Regions from separate parts of the Homo sapiens genome. Here all the other regions are linked to region 3. Evidence: promoter capture Hi-C in 16 types of primary human blood cells and fetal thymus (Javierre and others, 2016). All regions are on one chromosome and are shown on one strand. The core of a region is centred on a gene start or on the middle of the fragment in contact, and the rest is flanking DNA. Distances in the headings are between cores, read along the strand shown.

What was found. Contacts are between HindIII fragments. The CHiCAGO score rates a contact against its expected background, and 5 or more counts as called.
Region 1: a fragment that was not itself captured here is called in contact with the fragment with the promoter of PHTF1 in region 3 in 1 of 17 cell types (M1 macrophages); the score reaches 7.4 in M1 macrophages.
Region 2: a fragment that was not itself captured here is called in contact with the fragment with the promoter of PHTF1 in region 3 in 3 of 17 cell types (M1 macrophages, M2 macrophages and erythroblasts); the score reaches 7.2 in M1 macrophages.

What each region holds. Positions count from the first base shown.
Region 1 is chr1:113,096,008-113,100,171 of GRCh38, forward strand. LRIG2 (leucine rich repeats and immunoglobulin like domains 2) reads left to right here. Exons shown (of 18, transcript NM_014813.3): 7 at 1-10; 8 at 215-358; 9 at 2,698-2,778. Among named protein-coding and RNA genes, the nearest start is that of LRIG2, 25 kb to the left of the region's middle. The HindIII fragment of the contact is 681 bases long and covers 1,306-1,986 here.
Region 2 is chr1:113,117,097-113,121,375 of GRCh38, forward strand. LRIG2 (leucine rich repeats and immunoglobulin like domains 2) reads left to right here. Exons shown (of 18, transcript NM_014813.3): 17 at 2,137-2,427. Among named protein-coding and RNA genes, the nearest start is that of LRIG2, 46 kb to the left of the region's middle. The HindIII fragment of the contact is 1,406 bases long and covers 1,284-2,689 here.
Region 3 is chr1:113,758,106-113,762,455 of GRCh38, forward strand. It overlaps PHTF1 (putative homeodomain transcription factor 1), which reads right to left and starts at 1,381. Exons shown (of 19, transcript NM_001323043.2): 1 at 918-1,381; 2 at 554-628. The coding sequence starts at 598. RSBN1 (round spermatid basic protein 1) reads right to left here. Exons shown (of 7, transcript NM_018364.5): 7 at 3,727-4,350. RefSeq lists silencers at 21-150, 784-1,103 and an enhancer at 1,254-1,833. The HindIII fragment of the contact is 13,975 bases long and covers 1-4,350 here.

The DNA.
Region 1 (4,164 bases), core at 396-2,895, 660 kb before region 3:
TATCCGAACTGTAAGTGTTGGATAGCATTTCACTGGAGGCAGTTAAGACTAGAGCAGATTGGAATAAATCATTCCCATGGGCAGTAATGAGATGTAACATCCCTCTTTACTAGAAATTTGTAGAAAGCTCTAAATTTACCATGTAGATATAATAAGAATTGTAAGTTGAACCAAATACAATGAATTCCTTACCTTCCACATTTCTTGTTTTCAGTGATTTGTCCTATAACCAGCTGACCCGCCTGGATGAATCTGCCTTTGTGGGTCTGAGCTTATTGGAGAGATTGAATTTAGGAGACAACAGAGTCACTCATATTGCTGATGGTGTATTTAGATTTCTTTCCAATCTTCAGACATTGTAAGTATATCCATTCTCCTTTTTGGTTGTTGTTACTGATTTTTTTAGTACAATAAAGCAAATTAATTAAAACAACTAATCAGTCTGCAAATTCTGTATGCTAACATTTTGTGGTTCTTCTGTCCTATGCCTCAGAGCAAGGCAGTCTTATTTGTCTCCATCCCCATAAAAATCCCAAGCCTGTCGTAGGCAATTCAGTTTGTAGTTTAATTCTGAGTTAATCCCATAAGCATCAAAGCATGTCTTATTGTGTTAGTTGCTGTGGAATAAAACACAGTTGCTAGTGTCAGGAGAGCAGTCATTTTCTTGTTCCTTTGACTTTGACAATACACCAGAGCTACTAGTTCTCATTCGAAAGGATGCAGGTTGTGTAGTGGGAACTGCCGTGGTAGGAGACCAGTTCACTGTTACTGGTTTGCTACATGACTTTGGACAGAAGAAACTAATACTTATTATCTGATATGTGCCAGGTACTTTCAAATACTAGGATGATACTGCTGTTTTCCATATTAGGAGGCTGAGGTTCAGAGAAATTTAAATAATTTTCTCTAAGTCACATAGCTTGTAAATGTTGGGCCAGAATCAGATCCCAGGTCTGTTTGATGCTAAAGCTCATGTCCATTTTATCATACCAACAGAAGAACAAAATCACTTAGCTTTTCCTGGCCATCATTTTTTTTTCTCCTTTATACGGTGAAGGAAGGATATAGGATTAGATGGTTGCTAAAGGCAGTTTCCACGCTAAAATTCTGTGGTTCTGTAAGTTATTCAATTTACAGAATATAAGAATGTGTTTTTGTGAACTTTATATATTTATATATAAATATATCTAATTTTAGAATATAATTTTATTAAATGAAGAGGTATTTTAATGAAATATAGTAATCTCAAACACAGAGCAGAATAAAAGAAAACAAAGAGTAATTAGTAGAATTTGTAGATTCTTAAGCTTCCTGAATAGAGGACTTTGTGGTCATTAGGTTTCGAGTTGAAATGGTTCAGAGAAGAGGCAGGTTCCCAACTTGGAGACATAACCATCAATGAGAGGGAAAACAAGATAATTTTGTGAAGGGTATATACATGCACAGGTGTGTATTTGATTTTTTAAAAAATTCCTTTAGATTTGGCCTTGAAAAATTAAAAGTGATTGTATTTTTCCTTTTCCTATATTATCAGAAGTGAAACTGGATCAATGCAATCTCAGAAACTTAGATGTAGCTGCAGCCTTTTGGCAGTTGAAGGGATGGCAAATAGGTTATTTTAGTATACCACTGATTATTACTTTTAGAATTAAAGTTTTGGGAAGTAATAGCAGAAGTAAATGGTTGTGTAGTGCCACAGAGATAGTTAAGACAGAGTTAGGATCAAATCTGGGGAATTCTGGCTTTAGCCTCATGCTCTTGCCAGGGTAGATACAGTTCTTAATTTGTTGAATGGTTTCTATTTATGCTGTGCTGTGGAGGAGGGGGAAAATCCTGAAGAGTTGAGCCATTGGTTCTTTCATTATTTATTCCTTAGTAAAATAAAATGAGCTTTATTAGCTTTTCACTTAAAGAAAGCTAAGTGAAAACAGGGATCTCCTCTTTACTGCTAATCACACAACTCTACATGTCCCTTATAAAGTAGAAAGCTTTGTGCTTTATTATGAGATGACTTAAGGAAGCAAAAGCGATTAAATATTTTTAATTATATGGAAATAATTCTTTTATCATAACATGATGTGGTACAATTGCATTTCCTCTGAGAATGGAACAGTGAATTTTAGGAGATCCATACTTTCCCTTTGAAAGAAAATCTGATGACACGCTAACACATGGGTTTATCATTTTTGCTTCCCATGGGGCATCTTTAATTGCTCTTGAGCAATGAAACTGTATTGATATTACTCTCTGTCAGCCATTGTAAGTTCAAGGTCCCAGAGGAAGGCTTGGGTCACCCAGAAATCCCATTAATCTGAAATCAGATTTATAAGCCATATACCCTGCATCTTGAAACCCTCCTGCTCTTTTCAGGACCCTGTTTATAATTTTTAATATGCTAACATAATGAAGGGCTCTTTGCTTGGAAGAGTAATACTTTTAGCAGGTTGCTTTATTTACCAAGGCCAGCTTAATTGTTAGCTTATAAGAATCAGTTCTTACGTGTTTATTACAGATATTTCTTACGTGTTTATTACAGATATTTCTTAAGAAGCAGAGTTGAGCCTTCATCATAAATAACTGTTAAAGTAAGGATCAGAATTAGCATGTGTACCTTGACATCACCATACCAGGATACTGCTCAATGTTGTGATGGTTGTATTGACTAATAGCACCTGTCTTTCTCTGACATTTTTGTAGAGACTTAAGAAACAATGAAATTTCATGGGCCATAGAAGATGCTAGTGAAGCCTTTGCTGGACTCACAAGTCTCACTAAACTGTATGTATTATAATATTTATGTATGTCTACATAGGCATGTTTTCAAGAACCGGCTGTAAATATGATTGAATTATGTTTATTTCATATGGCTACAAAGTCTGAGCTTTCTGACACTCTGGGAGCTCTGTGGGGTTTCTTTGTTTGTTTGTTTGTTCGTTTTTTTGAGACTGAGTCTCACTCTGTATCCCAGGCTGGGATGCAGTGGCACGATCTCGGCTCACTACAACCTCTGCCTCCTAGGTCCTGGTTCAAGCAATTCTCCTGCCTCAGCCTCCTGAGTAGCTTGGATTACAAGCGCATGCCACCATGCCCAGCTAATTTTTGTATTTTTAGTAGAGACAGGGTTTCACCATCTTGGCCAGGCTGGTCTTGAACTCCTGACCTCGTGATCTGCCTGCTTCAGCCTCCCAAAGTGCCCGGATTATAGGTATGAGCCACTGAACTTGGCTGGTTTTTTTCTTTTTTTTTTTGAGACAGGGTCTTGCTCTGTCACCCAGGCTGGAGTGCTGTGGTGCAATCACAGCTCACAGCAGCTTCAACCTCCTAGGCTCAAGTGATCTCCCACCTTGGCCTCCTAAGGAGCTAGGACTAAAGGTGTGTATCACCATGCCTAGCTAATTAAAATTTTTTTTTTTGTAGAGACAGAGTCTCACTATATTGCCCAGGCTGGTGTTGAACTCCTGGGCTCAAGTGATCCTCCCACCTTGGCCTCCCAAAGTGCTGGGATTATAGGCATGAGCCCCCATGCCCAGCTAGTTTTTTTGTTTTTGTGTTTTTTTGTTGTTGTTGTCGGGGCACTTTTTATTGAAAAAGCATTCCTGTGGACACTTAAAGAGAAGTTATTTATGGAAGTAGAATTTCTATTCAAGTAAAAGGAATGCATTGAGAAAGTAGAGTAATGTGTTGGTAATCTGTTTAATTTGTAGTTTGTTTAATTGTAGGAGATTTGTGAGTAATTTATCTAGCAGAAGTAGAGCATTCTCTCACATAAGATTTTAGATCTTTTCCCATGAGAAGAATTTCTCCAAAGGTTCACACTTGTCTGAATTTCTTTCATCTGACAATCTTTTGCTCTGAATGGAGACATGAGGAATATAATGAATTTAACATCTGAAAATTACCAGTTTATCAGTGGTCAAGATGGTTGTTCACCTCATTGAGCTTTAACATCTTGATAGACACTTTTATGCTATGTTTTGCATTGATTAATAATTAAATTTCATAACTTTCTTAAAAATGCACGTTCTCATCAAATTGTACACATTAAATATGTGTAGTTTTTAGTATATCAATTGTACCTCAGTAAAGCTGTTAAGTATATAAAAAAGTACGCTACGCTTATTTTCACTTTTTATAGGTAAATGTTTAATGAATTTAATTTTGTTT
Region 2 (4,279 bases), core at 737-3,236, 640 kb before region 3:
ATGCGTACCCATACACAGAGTTCTTCTCCCTCCACCCTTTTCATAGCCTCGCTCCCATAGGGAGTGACAGAACTGAATGAATTAAGGGACAGAAGAATTGGGTTTAATTGATACTTCTTCCTTTTTCCAGCTCTGTGACCATGAAGCTAGTTACTTAAGATCTGAGCTTTACTTTTCTAATTTTTAAATAAAGAGACAATAATTTGTAAAGCACTTCCCCCAAGATTCTCACAGATCTTTTCAGCAAATCTGTGTGGTACTTCAAATACTATACAAATGGAAGATTTATTCCATTTCTTCAGAGACTTTTTTAGGCTGGGTGTCAACAGAACTTTATCTAATTGATAAATTGGATTTTGGCTTTTCATGAAAAATATAGTAGTTCTGACTCTTTTTTTTGTTTTTGAGAAAGCGTCTCATTCTGTTACCCAGGCTGGAGTGCAGTGGCACGATCTCAGCTCACTGCAACCTCCACCTCCCAGGTTCAAGCGATTCCTCTGCCTCAGCCTCCTAAGTAGCTGGGATTACAGGTGCGTGCCACCATACCCGGCTAATTTTTGTATTTTTAGTAGAGACGGGTTTCACCATGTTGGTCAGGCTGGTCTTGAACTGCTGACCTTGTGATCTGCCTGCCTCAGCCTCCCAAAGTGCTGGGATTACAGGCATGAGCCACCGCACCTGGCTGGCATTTCTGACTTTTAAAAGAATACTTAAAAGTCTGTTCTTTGAAGTATGTGGGAAATAACACTGCTTTCTGGGTTAAACTAAATTACTTTTCACTCTCTTCCAATTCTAACATTCTGTTGCATGATTTTTTTTTGTTTGTTTTTTGGTTTTTTTGAGACAGAGTTTCATTCTTGTCACCCAGGCTGGAGTGCAATGGCACCATCTCAGCTCACTGTAACCTTTGCCTCCCCGGTTCAAGCGATTCTCCTGCCTCAGCCTCCTGAGTAGCTGGGATTACAGGCACCTGTCACCATGCCCGGCTTATTTTGTATTTTTAGTAGAGATGGGGTTTCACCATATTGGCCAGGCTGGTCTCAAACTTCGGACCTCAGGTGATCCACCTGCCTCGGCCTCCCCAAGTGCTGGGCTTACAGGCATGAGCCACTGCTCCTGGCCTGTTGCATGATTTTGAATAAGTAACTCACTCTTTATTTCTCACTCTCTCTTCTCTCCTTCATCATTCAGTTTTCAAAGCACATAATAATCCAGGGAGTTCATTGTTAAACCTATACTTCTGTCAACCATGTACTTGTCAGGCAGGACTTCTCATTGTCAGAAGCTTTCCCTAGGGATGCTTGTAGCAATTGGTGTTACTTAACCTCTTGACTCATTAAAGTAACATGGTTTTTCATGAAGTGAAGTCATCATAACTCCTTATTCTCTGACTTAGTTTGCTTAAGCCAAGCATGTGTCTTGTAGCACAGTACCAGCCTTATCTTGCTCCCTTGATTTGGGCATGATCTGTCTATCCACAATAGACAGAGATGGTTCAGTGTAGTTTTCAAGAGCATGGGCTCTGGAGCCAGAATGGCTGTTTCTGCTCCTCACTCTGGCAGTATGACTTTGTTTTTTTTTTTTTGGAGACAGAGTCTCGCTGTGTCGCCCAGGCTGGAGTGCAGTGGCGTGATCTCGGCTCACTGCAAGCTCCGCCTCCCGGGTTCACGCCATCTTCCTGCCTCAGCCTCCCGAGTAGCTGGGACTACCGGTGCACGCCACCACGCCTGGCTAATTTTTTGTATTTTTAGTAGAGATGGGGTTTCACCGTGTTAGCCAGGATGGTCTAGATCTCCTTACCTTGTGATCTGCCCGCCTCGGCCTCCCAAAGTGCTGGGATTACAGGCGTGAGCCACCGCACCCGGTAGCGGTATGACTTTGGTTAAGTTACTTAACTTCTCTGTGCTTTAGTTTACCCTATCTGTAAAGTGGGGATAATAATAATACCTACCTCATAGGGATGTTGTGAGGATTAATGAATCAATTCACAGAAATGGCTTGAAACTTCACCTACTTTATAAAGTAAGTGCTCAATACATGCTAGCAATGATGATGACAACTTTTGAAGAAAACTGACGATTGGCAAAAAATAATTCCTTAACAGAAAGATATTTAGATTCTTTTTCTTGTTATTAGGTGGCACTGGTACCCGGGTGATTTGCTCAGATTGTTATGACAATGCCAACATCTACTCCAGGACCCGAGAATACTGTCCATACACCTATATTGCTGAGGAGGACGTTCTTGATCAGACACTGTCCAGCCTCATGGTCCAAATGCCTAAAGAGACATATTTAGTACATCCTCCCCAGGATACTACTGCCCTAGAGAGCCTGATACCGTCAGCCAACAGAGAGCCATCTGCCTTTCCCACCAACCATGAGAGGATAAGTGAGAAGAAACTTCCCTCCACACAGATGAGCGGTGGTAAGGGATGTATTTTTGTTGTTATTTTGTTTTTACTTTCGTCTAATTGACTCTTCCTTCTATCATATAGGTAGTGCTCTCATTTGACAGGAAGCAAGCAGATGGGTATATAGGAGTAACTGGCCATTGTTAAATGGTATAAACTATAGCCAGAGATTTCTGCATACTAGAGTTACAAAGAAGTCTTCATCTATAGGATGGAAACAACTTTTGTGGGGGTAACAGGATCACACTACTGAAAATTCAGAGGCCATACACAAAAAGCTTTTAAAAGGTTTCATACAGGCTATTTATTTATTTATTTGAGACAGAGTATCACTGTGTCATCCAGGTTGGAATGTAGTGGTGCAATCTTGGCTCATGCCAACCTCTGCCTCCCTGGTTCAAGCAATTCTCATGCCTCAGCCTCCCAAGAAGCTGGGACTACAGGCGTGCACCACCACACCCAGCTAATTTTTGTATTTTTAGTAGAGGTGGGGTTTAACCATGTTGGCCAGGCTGGTCATGAACTCCTGACCTCATGTGATTGCCTGCCTTGGCCTCCCAAAGTGCTGAGATTACAGGTGTGAGCCACCGCACCCGGTATCATATAGGGTATTAATTTTTCTCCGATCTTTATTTAAATAAAAGAATAAAATATGGGGGGCCGGGCACAGTGGCTCACGCCTGTAATCTTAGCACTTTCGGAGGCCAAAGCAGGTGGATCATTTGAGGTCAGGAGTTTGAGACCAGCCTGGCCAACATAGGGAAACCCTGTCTCCACTAAAAATACAAAAATTAGCCTAACATGGTGGTGCATGCCTGTAGTCCCACCTACTCGGGAAGCTGAGGCACGAGAATCACTTAAGCTCGAGATGGAGGTTGCAGTGAGCTGAGATCGTGCCACTGCACTCCAGCCTGGGCAACAGAGTGAGACTCTGTCTCCAAAAAATAGTAATAATAAAATTTGGGCATAATTTGGTGATGGTTTTTACTGAGAAGATTTTTTTTTTTTTTTTTTTTGGGAAATGGAGGTTCGCTCTTGTTTCCCAAGCTGGAGTGCAATGATGCCATCTCGGCTTACCAGGACCTCCGCCTCCCGGGTTCAAGCAATTCTCCTGCCTCAGCCTCCTGAGTAGCTGGGATTACAGGCATGTGCCACCATGCCCAGCTGATTTTCTATTTTTAGTAGAGATGGGGTTTCTCCATGTTGGTCAGGCTGGTCTCAAACTCCCGACCTCAGGTGAGCCACCCACCTTGGCCTCCCAAAGTGCTGGGATTACAGGCATGAGCCACTGTGCCCGGCCTACTGAGAAGTTTTTTTTTTTTTATTTGAGATGGAGTCTAGCCCTGTTGCCCAGGCTGGAGTCCAGTGGCGTGATCTCAACTCACTGCAACCTCTGCCTCCCAGGTTCAAGCGATTTTCCTGCCTCAGCCTCCTGAGTAGCTGGGATTACAGGCATGTGCAACCACAACCGGCTAATTTTTTGTATCTTTATAAGATGGGGTTTCACCATGTTGTCCAGGCTGGTCTCGAACTGCTGACCTCGTGATCTGCCTGCCTTGGCCTCCCAAAGTGCTGGGATTACAGGCGTGAGCCACCATGCCTGGCTGAGAAGAGTTTTAAATGTTTTGTTTTGTTGCTGTTTTAGCAGGTAAACATTTAATTTCAGCTTCACTTGGCGGGTGTTTTTTTCTATGAGGTATGATCAAGGTCATAAGTGAGAACGCAGTTTTGGGCTTGTGTCCCCTGTCTCACATGGCCCAGGAAAAGAAATATACATTATATTGTATAGATTAGGCATTTGATAACCTACTTGGCATTTGAAACAAAACTCTTTCTAAATCATGAAGAGTAATGCTGAGCATGTGT
Region 3 (4,350 bases), core at 131-2,630:
GGGCGTGGTGGTGGGCGCCTGTGATCCCAGCTACTCCAGAGGCTGAGCCCGGGAGGCGGAGCTTGCAGTGAGCCGAGGTCGCGCCATCGCCCTCCAGCCTGGGCAACAAGAGCGAAACTCCGTCTCAAAAAAAAAAAAAAAAAAAAAAAATCCACTTCTTAAGGAAAAGAGCACTAGAAAAACTAGAGAGGAATAAAAGATAAGGAACAGCTCAATAAGATTGTTGATAGTATCAATCTGAGCTGTGCACATACAGGTTTCATGTCTTTTTTGTTTTTAAGCAGTTTGATCAGAAGCAAACTTTCAAAGCATTGCGGTGGCATTGTGTATGCAGCCTGAAGGAGGTGGCTTGTAAACCTTATTCTGGGACCTGGAACCGGGTTTAAAAGACATAATGACCTTGTACATCTTTTTTTTTTTTTTTTCATTTATGTTGAAGTATACATGAACACCTGGCACTACTAAACTCGGGGGAAAGTAACATTATATTATTTGTGGGAGCTTTTTGCAGGAAGAATGCTTTACAAATAAAAAAAATATATATATGTATTACCTTCTTTTGGTACCACGATATAGCATCTCTCTCATTTGAGGCCATCTGTGTCTCCAGCCAGAGAATGGGATTTCACTGAAAATGAAGGAAAACCAATCGGTGAGTCCAGCTGCTGAAGGTTACTCTCCCAGTTTGGGTAGGACGCGAAAACCGCTTCTCTCAGCCTCTCCATGAGCTGCTCTTTCTCCAGCTGTTTGCCAGGGAAAACACAACAAACAAACAAAAAAAAACTGGCGCAGCGGCGACCGGAGAAGCCTCTGCAATATATCGGGCGAGCGTGTTCGTGGGTGCGGGGGAGGGGCAGGGGCCGCCGCTGGAGTCGCCCGGCACCCGCCTCCTTCGCTCGCCCGCGTCCGGCTCTCACCTAGTGCCCGTTGCCCCGCGGGCCGGCGCCCGGGACCTCCGTCCTCAGTGCCCGGGGTCCCACCGTGAGGCCGGGGGCGAGGCGGCGGGCCAGGCAGGCCGCATCTTCCCCTCCAGGCGGAGACGCCGGAGAGGCCGTTACCATGGAGACCGCGGAGGCCGCCCCAGCTTCGGAGGCAGCCGGCCGCCCAGCGCCCTGAGGGCGGCAAATCGATCGCCGGTCAGAGGCCGCCTACAGGGTCACGGACTGACCAGAAAATAAGCAGAGAATGAACTGGAAAATGAGGGGGATTAAAAGTGAAGGCCTCCAGTCGCCACGGCGACAGCAAAAGGCTTTGTGCCCAGCTGGAAAAGACAGGTGCAAAGGCCCCGGACCCCGAGAGCCCGGGAGCCCGGGAGGAGGAGGCGGCGGCAGCGGCGCTCGTCTTCTGCGGGCCGCGCCGGGATGCAGTGACTCAGCCGTCTGAGATCTGGGCTAGAGCCGCTCAGCCGACCACCGGGCAGCAGCCTTCGGCTTCCGCTTTCCGGCTTTCGCCGCCGAGGTGGCTCCGCCCCTGGCCCGGGGCCTTCCCGCCCAGCCTTGGTCCAGGCTCCGGGTCCGAGGGCCTGGGGAGTCGCGCGGCATATCGATGGCCAAGAGCAGCTCCCTCAGATCACCCTTCAGGCCTCAGCTTAAAAGTCACTTCCTCACAAACGACTCTCCCATCCAGCGGTCTAAAGGAGGTCGGTCCTGATACTCTAGTAGCTCACGTCTTTGTGGCACTCATTTTCGTGTTTCATGGCTTAATCTCTGTTCCCCAGTGGGCTGTGGGCTCCATGAGGTCAGAGACTGGGGCCTGGCACAAGCCTGGCACTTAGGTTCCCAATGTTTGTTGAGCGAACGAATCAATGTTTGCGTGAATTTACGCTGCCCTGGGAGGAAGGGCCAGGCTGCGGCTTAGTGACTCCCTTCCTCTCCCGCCCCTCAGCAGCTCTGGGTCTGGAGCTTTCTAGTGCTCAAAGGTGTAGGGGGAAAAGAGGAACAAGTATTGGGCAGTCACAGCTTTTTCCAAATTAGGGTAAAGTTAGGTGGCGGCAGGAACAGGTTAATTAGGGCCGATAGAGGTCAGGAGAAAGGAAAGAAAGGTTGAACCCTCAAGTGAATATTTAAGGATACGTTAAAAGGATTTTTAGGCTGCTTTTTTTTTTTTTTTTTTTTTGGCCATTAATGGAACACTGTCCCCTTACAGCCATTCTCCCCACCTTATTTGAAGCCGTGTTCTTGCTAGCCCACAGCGTGTAGCATCTGGGTCAGAGAAAGCTAATGACAGATGATAGCTTCACTTAAGAAAGCCTAAGAGGCGCTGTACTCAATGTTTTGCAGACATTATTTCTTCTTATCTATTGAGTGGGCACCAGGTGGAAGTTATCCCATTTCACGGATGAGGAAAATCGACTAAGCTAAAATAACTCCCACAGGACTAAGTTTTACAAATTACTTCACCCAGCCTGGGCGCAGTGGCTCACGCCTGCAATCTGGGCGCTTTGGGAGGCCTGAGGCGGAAATGTAGCTTGAGCACAGGAGTTTGAGACCAGCCTTAGCAACATGGCCAGACCCCGTCTCTTAAAAAAAAAAAATTAGCCGGGGGTGGTGGCGCGCACCTGTAGTCCCAGCTACTTCGAAGACTGAGGCAGGAGGATCGTCTGAGTCCACGAGTTCGAGGCTGTAGTGAGCTATGATTGCACCACTGCACTTCGGCCTAGGCAACAGAGACCTGTCTCAAATAAAGTAAAAATTATTTTACCCTTATTTTTATATTGCACACATTGGCAGTGGTTTCCTTCTGCTTTTGCTCCTTGACAGCTTTTCCTTTCCTTAGTGCTAAACATTACAATTCTGTTGAGCTTCAAGACAAATGGCCAACTTGAAAAAAGAGATAAATGACAAGTGAAAAACGTCGAATTTTGCACACGTAAATATTTAACCTCAATTACATTAATAGCAAAAGTACTTTACTTCACTGTTTGGCACACAGATTTTCAGGGAGTGTCTGGAGGAACTGAATCAGGTAAGAAGTATTAGAGAATAGTGGTAAGTAGTAAACCATTTTTCAGGTGCCCTGTTGGAAACTATTCAGTGCTTCCTGCGGCTACCAGCGAACAAGGTCTGAATCCTTGCTCCCAACCAATAATCTGTGATCTTAAGCAATTTATTCAACTAACAAGCCTGTTTTCTCACCTGTATTATGGAGATAGTCACCTTCTTAAGGATGTGAGGATTAAATGAGAAACCCTCATATAAACTGCCTGGCCCATGGCAGTTACTCAAAAAATGTGAAGTCCCTTTCTTTTCCTTTCCTAGACAGAACCAAAGGCTATCAGTGCTTAGGACAGGTACCTCAATTAAAGATAACTTCACACAAAAACTGATGAGGAAAGAAATCCATTTTGTTGTGTCACATTAATACATCAATGACATAAAAGTCTATACGCCATCTTCATTAATACTCAATGCACTTTCAAGAAAATCCACATCACCAGAATAAAAATTTAAGACTGTCCTCTTTTAAGTAGATACACACCAATTTAAGCAATTAAGAGGCATTAACTACAACAAATGTCAAGTGTATTTTTTCTTCTTCCCCCAAACTAATTGCATCTCAATATGGATGGAATTTTCCCCAGACATCTTTAGGAAAGAAGTCATAAGATTTTCTAAAAATTTTTTTTGAAGTAGTAGGGGATACAGTAGGTGAGGGATTCGTCCTCTAAAAACAGGTTCCAGGTATTTAGAACTCACATATGCTATGCATTTTGTGATGAAACACCAGTAAAGGACAAATCAGACTTTTTTTATTAAAAAAATACTTTACAGGAAAAAAAAAAACTATGCATTCCATTGTCCTATTTTACAAAGAAATAGCTTAACAATTTAACACACTTAGACAGCTACAAAAAAGCACTGTGTTAAAAGGATTATTCACACAAATTTAGATTTAAGACTATTCATTAAAAACCTTTTTAAAACACTCGTTAATGTCAATAAACAAACTAAGGCCACACAACGCAAATAGTCCGCCAGGCAAATATACATTTCATCTATATGCAAAGACCTCTTAGATAAATAAAAGCCACAGGAAAAAAAGTCTTAGCTGCCAATCAAAATGGAGTTTACTCACAGAAAACACTATTACATGAAAATTTACAACATGTGATAGTAGTACATAAGTATTTCTTTAGAGAGAATTGAAAAGTGCTATATTTTAAGAGACAGTGGTCTCAACTACATGCACAAGTGGATCCTAAAAAATGTATGAAGAAAATGGAAGGCCATAATATTTATGGAGAGATACTTGCTTTTAAAGCAACAAACTTTCAAGACAAGGATAGGTCCCTTACGTGCTAAAGAAAAACATTTGTACTGTGCATTTCCTCTACTTGCATGGCCAATAAAT